Linked DNA regions of Homo sapiens: region 1 is linked to region 2. The links are contacts of gene promoters, found by promoter capture Hi-C in blood cells and fetal thymus (Javierre and others, 2016). All regions are on one chromosome and are shown on one strand. Each heading gives the region's core, a stretch centred on a gene start or on the middle of the fragment in contact. The rest is flanking DNA. Distances are from core to core; before and after follow the strand shown. Region 1 overlaps CHST11 (carbohydrate sulfotransferase 11). Region 2 holds the start of NOPCHAP1 (NOP protein chaperone 1).

Region 1 (3,854 bases), core at 1-2,500, 520 kb before region 2:
TTGCTGTGAGCTAAGATGGCACCACTGCACTCCAGCCTGGGCGACAGAGTGAAACTGTGTCTCAAAAAAAAAAAAAAAAAAGAGACAAAAAGGAGACAGCTGGCAAGGCTGGCTGTCCCTCTCTCTGATTCTAATCTGGGGCCCATTATCTTTTCTAATTCATAGAATTGATTAATTTGCAAATTTGAGTAATTGGTCATCAGTTGCACAAGGGTTTAGCAGAAGTGGGCCTTGTCAGTAGGATAGTTACATTTAGAAGTTTTTGATACTCTGAGTTAATAGTCTTCCTTAAGAATATTTTATAGGGCAAGGACCAGGTTTTAGACTCCATTTTAATCCCGATGTTTTTTGCACGGTGTCTGACAACAGTGGGTTCTCAATAGAATGTTTGCTGGATGAATGCATGAAGTGGTTAAACTCCAGAAGTAGACCCACTTCTCTGGTTTTCAGGAAGGTCACTTCTAGCCTTGCCAAGAATGCCTGGTCAATAACTCTGGCTCTGTCTGGTGGGGAAACTTCCTGCCTTCCTGAACTGTGACACGGACCCAGTTTAAACTAATCAGGCGCCAGACAGGAGCTTTCACCGTGACCTAAATTTGCAGCCCGTGAGGTGTAGGCAGCTGAGGCACTGCTCTGTGTCCTGGATTCTGGAGAAGGTTGGTCTTGTTTAGCCACTTAGATGGATTCTAAGGAAATCCATCCATAGAACAGACACCTTCTATGGCCGTGAACTATTCCTAAAGCTAGGGAGAATGGAACCATATACCTGTGATTTCTACACAGGTTTGAGTTCACCAATGAATGCTTCCTATGCAAGTTCATCAGCTTGCATTAAAATGTCTTGCATACCTGCCCCAGATGGCTGGGTTTTGATGGAGCTGTGTCATGCAGTGCAAAGCTGAGAGGCCCCCCAGGCTGCATTGGCACAGAGTGTGTAAAGGCAGCTCTTCAGAACCTTCCTTTTGTGTTACTCCATAGGATTGTGGTTTTTGTTTGAAATCTACTGTTCATAGAAAGAAGCCTTCAGAGGAGAAAGCCTTTTCTCTCCTGTCTGCTTCCTCTCTATTATTTTTATTTTTGCAAAATGTTTATTTTCACTGTCACCTGGGATTTCTTTGCCTCGGTTGAATGTATTGAAAGATTATATCCTTTATTTAAAGATGTCTCATTTTACCCCCTTGCACTTTCACTTGATCAGGTTGAACCTAAAATGCATTTTGTATTATAATTTTAAACGAATTGTAAACATAACATGTGCTCATTTTAGAAAATTTAGGAGGTGGCCAGGTGCGATGGCTCACACCTGTAATCCCAGCACTTTGGGAGTCCAAGGCAGGTGGATCACCTGAGGTTGGGAGTTTGAGACCAACCTGACCAACATGGTGAATCCCCGTCTCTACTAAAAATACAAAAAAAATTAGCCGGGCGTGGTGGTGCACGCCTGTAATCCCAGCTACTTGGGAGGCTGAGGCAGCAGAATCACTTGAACCAGGGAGGCGGAGGTTGCAGTGAGCTGAGATTGTGCCATTGCATTCCATCCTGGGCAACAAGAGTTAAACACCATCTCAAAAAAAAAAAAAAAAAAGAAAAAGAAAAGAAAAAAAGAAAATTTAGGAGGTATAGAAGAAAAACAATCATTATTCCACCACCAAGAGGCAACTGGTACTTTAAAAATATATTATAGAATATATTTATATATATTTATATATTCTGTATTTTTCTCAACTATGCAAAATGCATATACATAGTTGAGATAACATCATGCATTTTGTATCCTGTTTGATAATAAGTATTTTAGACAAATACATCATTGTCACAACTAGTTATTAAAGTTAAAGACAAAGTTTAACCATAACTGTTTAAATGTATAGACTTGCATGTGTCTCCACCTCCCACCCTACCCCTTTGCAGGATGTCAGTCTGGTATTATTTTTTTTGCTGTGGTTGCACAAATTTAATGTTACGTTACAGAATCTTTTTGCTTATACATGGAATAGTTTGGAGTCTTACCAATTTGTAGGGGCTGTTCTTATGTTATACACCTGAAACTTCCATTGAAAAGGTGTCAAGAGGGTCTCAAATATGAGACTGTTATGAATTCTGAAAACAGCATTGAATCACTGAAGGATCTCATGTACCCCATAAATATATACAACTACTATGTACCTATAAAAATTAACAAGTAAAAAAATAACTGAAGGAGAAGACATTTTTAGCATGGGGTCTCTCCTTGATCATTTAAATGTTTGCACCTCGATGGAGCATTTTCATTGCTGTGCTCAGATGAGACAGATGTAGGTGATCTCCTTTGATTGTTACAGTCCTCATTTTCATTGCCTTCCAAAATAAAAAGGGGTGATCAGGCACCACAGAAAGGGTGGTTTGGGGGTTTCCGTGGGGTGAGGGGTGAGGGAATCCATCCTTCAGCAGAGGTATCTGCTGTCAGTATTTGTCTGGTTGAAAGATCATTTTGTTCATAGCTTTATCAGCACAGTCATTTCAAAACAGGAAGTCAAAGGCTCATAAGCAAAGGCACCACCCTTTCCCTTCTTAAACCCACCAAAAGGACCTCTCTTTAGTCTGGAGGTCAAGTGAAAAAGGCTCTCATGAAAGTCATTGCCAGCAGGCCTCTTCTAAGTTCAGACTCTGAGGAAAACCAGAAGTCATTCTGCTGATTCATTTTTTTTTCTTTTTAGTTTTTCTTTTGAATTTTTGGGACACCACCTTTATAACAAATAAAAGGGGAGGCAGTTCTTCCTATGAACAATCTGATCTGTCAGTTAAAATTTCCTAGAACTTGTAATTTGATGCATCTTAGATCCAATGTGAGTGATTGAAACTTACAAGCAGACTTGTTCTCCTCCTCCCCAGCCCCCTGTCTGTCTGTCTCTCTCTCTTTTCCTTTCTTCTACTCTGTGCCAGATACTGTTCTTGGCACTGGAGATGTAACACATACATACATCTCTGCCTTCATGGAACTTAGATTCTAGTGGGGCGGACAGACTTTAAGCAAATGCAGAAGTGACATATATGGTATATCAGATGGTGTTAAGAGAAAAACAAAACAGAGAAGATGGTTGAGGGGTGTGAGAGGCAGGGGTTGCAATATAATATAGAGGTAATTAGGGAATGTCATTGATAAGATGACACTGAGAGCAGACACCTGCAGGAAATGAAGGAGCCGGCCATGTTCCAGGCAGAGAGCAACACAAGTCAAATCTGGTCCCTGAGGCAAGAACACGCATGGCAAGGTGGTCAGAGTGCCCAGAGCAGAGGGACGGAGGCAGCCAACAACCACAGTGGGGAGAGACAAGTCGGAGAGAGACAATTGTTTTGAGCCTTGGGTTTAACTGTAGATGGGAGGGAAGCGCTGCAGAAGCTTGAGCAGAGGTCTCTTGGGGCAGGGAGGCAAGGAATAAGGGTGGAAGCAATGTAGCAAGATTGAAAATGAAGTCTCCTACTTGCACTTTTTTTTTTTTTTTTTTGAGGTGGAGTCTTGCTCTGTCACCTAGGCTGGAGTGCAGTGGTGCAATCTGGGCTCACTGCAACCTCTGCCTCCTGGGCCCAAGCAATTCTCCTGCCTCAGCCTCCTGAGTAGCTGGGATTACAGGCATGCACCACCACACCTGGCTAATTTTTGCATTTTTAATAGATACTGGGTTTTGCCATGTTGGCCAAGCTGGTCTTGAACTCCTGACCTTAAGTGATCCACCCTCCTCGGCCTCCCAAAGTGCTGGTAGAGGTGTGAGTCACTGTGCCCAGCTCTACTTGCACATTTGTGCTCATCTTTGGGCAGCCGGTAGTGTACTTTGGTTAAGTGGTCACCATATAAGTCCCATCTCCCCTCTACCACC
Region 2 (4,056 bases), core at 560-3,059:
CTGGGAGCCCAATAATTCTGTATCACCAGTGCCATTACATACATTTTACTCCTTTTCCTCTTTTATTCCTTATAACATCCCCATGAAGTATTATTATCCTGATTCTGCAGAGAAGGACAGACGCTCAGGGAGTGATCTGCCCAAAGTCACAGCTACTAAATGAATAATATGACACTGGATTTAATCCACTCCAGGCTGATTCTGGAGCCTCTGCACTGTCAGAAATAAGCAGAAAAGATTGGTCCAAGGTTTCTGCTGCTTCTGCTTTGAATCCTATATAAGAGGGGTCTGGGCATACTGCAGGTGGTCAATAAAGACTGTTAAAAGAACAAACAGGAAAGGAAGCAATAGAGTGAAAAGGCAACCTACAGAATGGGAGAAAATATTTGTAAATCATATATCCGATAAAGGGTTAATATCCAGAATATATAAATAACTCCTACAACTCAACAACAAAAACACAAATAACCAGATTAAAAAATGGGTAAAGGAGTTGAATAGTCATTTCTCCAAAGAAGATATATAAATGGCCAACAAGCCCATGAAAAGGTGTTCAGCATCACTAAATCATTAGAGAAATGCAAACCAAAACTTCAAGATATCACTTCACACTCACTGGGATGCTCACTGTCAAAAAGAAAGAAGCAACCAAACAGAAAAAGGAAATATTGACAAGGATGTGGAGAAATTGGAACTCTTGTGCACTGTGGGAATGTAAAATGGTGCAGCCACTATGAAAAACTATACGGAGGCTTCACAAAAACCTAAAAAGTAGAATTACCCTATTATCCAGTAATCCCATGTCTGGGTATGTATCCCAAAGCATTGAAAAGCAGGGTCTCTAAGAGATATTTGTACCACCATGTTCATTGCAGCAGCGTTCACAATGACCACGAGGTGGAAGCAACCAGCACGCCTGTTGAGAGATCAATGGTAAGAAAATGTGGTATATACATACAATGGCATATTATTCAGGCTTAAAAAAGAAGAGAATCCTGTTATGTGCTACAACATGTCTAAACCTTGAGGGTATTATTTTAAGTGAAATTAGTAACAAAAAGGCAAGTACTGTATGATTCCACCTACATAATGTATCTGAAGTAGTCAAGCTCATAGTAACAGAAAGTAGAACGATGGTAGCTGGGCATGATGGCTCACGCCTGTAATCCCAGCACTTTGGGAGGCCAAGGTGGGTGGATCTCCCGAGGTCAGGAAATCAAGATCAGCCCGGCCAACATGGTGAAAACCCGTCTCTATACAAAAATACAAAAATTAGCCGGGCGTGGTAGTGTGCACCTGTAATCTTAGCTACTTGGGAGGCTGAGGCACCAGCCTGGGCGACAGAGCAAGGCTGTTTCAAAAAGAAAGAAACAAAGAAGAAAGTAGAATGGTGGTTACCAAGGGACTGGAGTAGGGGTAAATGGGTATAAGGTTTCAGTTTTGCAAGATGAAAATGATCTAGAGGTCTGCCACCACTGAATTGTACAACTAAAAATGGTTAAGATGGTAGATTTTGTTACGTGTTTTTTCACCAATTAAAAAAAAATTTAATAAAAAAGGATAAAGAGGAGGGAAGCCTAATGTTATGCTCTTTATGCCCGAATTTGGCGAAATCGAGCCTTGCCCGCTGTTTTTTCCTATGACAGTGTCTGAACCTTTCTTTTTCCCAGGAGTAGGAATGGCCCCTGCTCCCGCGCAGCCTCCAGGCTGCACCACGCTCGCCCCGCCTCTCTCTCCGCTCCTTACTCCGCCCACCGCAGTTTCCTCCAATCGCGGCCCTCTCCCCGCCCCCTTACCCGAGCCTTTTTCCTGCATCCGGGCCTGAGAGTGCAGGCTTGAGGGAAGCATGGAGGTCCATGGCAAGCCCAAGGCTAGCCCGAGTTGTTCGTCGCCCACCCGGGATTCCTCAGGAGTCCCAGTGTCCAAGGAGCTGCTGACGGCGGGAAGCGACGGCCGCGGAGGTGACGGACGGGTGACGGCGGCATGGGCCGCACACGTGCGGCAGAGGAGGCGCGGCCGGTGCAGTTTGGGAGCCGGCCGGTGGCTCCCTGCCCGGGCTCCGTACCCTCGAGGGGAGCCCCGGGGACTGCTGCGGGGCTCCGGCGTGCCCTGCCCGCGGCAGGGGTGGGGGCTTTGGGGCGGGCACCCGGCTGCGGGCCCGGAATGGTTTCCCCAGCTAGTGGTTCTTATATTCTGCAAGGTAGTGAGCGCCCACCCTGCCAGGCGCCGCTGCCAGGCATCTGCCCTGCCCTGGAAGCTGGGAAGCTCTCGAGTTCTTTTGGGGAAGGGAGGGCTTTTGGTTTGGCTGCCTGGGTCGGAGCAGTTGGCTGATAGGGGGAAGCGGAGTAATATTATGCTAACAGTCCCTACCTCTTTCACACCCACACAGACCACCCCTTAGTGCTGCTGTCTTGTAGAGGGAGACATGCATCCAGGAAATCCACACAGCATTTCAGACACTATAGGTAGAATTTAAAAGCACGAGTTCGAATCCCAGCTCCACTAGTAATTAACTGGTGGGACTTAGAGTTATTTTCATTCCCTAAGCCTCAGTTTTTGCATTTGGAAAATGGTGATAGTAGTAATGCCTGTAGAATTTTTGTGAGGAGGAGAATGCCTAAAAAGGCTTGGGCATGTTGTCAGTAAATACTAGCTTGAAGAAAAGGTTTTGTGAGAACCCAGAGATTCCGAAGGAAGTATAATAATGATAACCAAAGCTTATGTAGTCCTTACTATGTATGCCCCAGAAACTAACTCATCTAATCCTCACAACAACCCTTTGCAGAAAATCTGTTATCTCTGTTTTATAGTTGAGGAACCTGAGACATGATTTATCATACAGGTAATTTACCTTCTGGAGATCATGTGGCTAGAAAGTAGCAAAACTGGGACTTGAATTCAAGTAGTCTGGCTCCAGACTCTGTGCTCTGATCACGAATCCAGTAGGCCTTAAGTAGTAGGCATTCAATGGATGTTTGTTGCGGCTCTGCTTTGCAGGTGAACAGGATTTGTTTTTTAACCAGAGAGTTAAGGGATTTTCCGGGTATTAGAAATAGGGTGTGCAAAGCCTTGAGTTTTGTACGTTCCCCTCTTGGAACTCTGATGGGATAGAGAGTTGGGATGATTTGAGTAGTGAGAAATGAGGCTGGAAAGGTAGAGTGGGTGACAAAATCCCCAAAAGGCTGCTTTCCTTGGGTTGAACGTCTTCAGGGAAGGGGAAATACCAGGCAAGCATGTTTTACTAATGAAGAAACAAATGCTTGAAGATCAGGTAAGTTGCCCAGTGTTACACAACTAGTAACCATTTCTGGCTTCACTTAACCATTGTTATGCTCTGTACTGTTTCCTCCGTTCTGTCATTGCAGACCCACGTTTGTCTGCTAATGAATTTCTGATCCAGAAAAGTGCAGATTGGTGTGCATTTATTACCTGCCATTGGTGATAGAGGTGAATGAGACAGATGTAAGAAAGGAGAGGTGGCTGGCTGTACATAAAGAATTAAAATGTTGTAATGGAGCTTGGAGTTCTCCTTTAAAAAAAAAATTTTGGGGGAGTGTGGACAGTCAAGTCTTAAGACTGGTCATGTGAGAGGCTTACTGATGGGCCTTTGTTTTTTTATGCTGTAGTAAATTAAGGGTGTTTGTGTGTCTGTATTTTCAGGTATATGGGACAGGTTGCTCATCAACTCCCAACCTAAGTCCAGAAAGACCTCCACTCTTCAAACAGTTCGGATAGAGAGGAGTCCCTGTAAGTACCTCTTCCCCTCTCTCACCCTCTCTAATGCTGAGTTTTGTCTGATTAAGCTGTGGGACGGTCTCTGCCTTCATTGTCAGGTATCAAACCACAGATAGTCCAGTGGAACAAGTCCTACTTGGGATTTACATGATAAAGTCAGTACACAGAATGGAACTTCTTACATTATTTCTCTACTTTAAGAGGGTAACTTTTTCGTGAAAAATTGCTTGTGGGTTGAATTTTGGGAAGTCAAAAACAATTGTTAATCTCCATGGCAAATTTATTTAGAGGTTACTGAGCCTCAAACTTAATATATATGGA

Evidence for each region. The method cuts DNA at HindIII sites, captures the fragments that hold promoters and counts their contacts. A CHiCAGO score of 5 or more calls a contact.
Region 1: a fragment that was not itself captured here is called in contact with the fragment with the promoter of NOPCHAP1 in region 2 in 1 of 17 cell types (naive CD8 T cells); the score reaches 5.3 in naive CD8 T cells.

The regions. Positions count from the first base shown.
Region 1 is chr12:104,460,601-104,464,454 of GRCh38, forward strand. The region is part of intron 1 of CHST11 (carbohydrate sulfotransferase 11); the gene reads left to right. Among named protein-coding and RNA genes, the nearest start is that of CHST11, 5.6 kb to the left of the region's middle. RefSeq lists an enhancer at 2,336-2,385. The HindIII fragment of the contact is 4,254 bases long and covers 1-3,377 here.
Region 2 is chr12:104,984,507-104,988,562 of GRCh38, forward strand. It overlaps NOPCHAP1 (NOP protein chaperone 1), which reads left to right and starts at 1,810. Exons shown (of 4, transcript NM_152318.3): 1 at 1,810-1,961; 2 at 3,661-3,747. The coding sequence starts at 1,847. It overlaps LOC105369952 (a long non-coding RNA gene), which reads right to left and starts at 1,864. Exons shown (of 2, transcript XR_007063436.1): 1 at 1,797-1,864. RefSeq lists enhancers at 1,464-1,976, 1,977-2,487 and a silencer at 2,040-2,289. The HindIII fragment of the contact is 4,173 bases long and covers 1-2,715 here.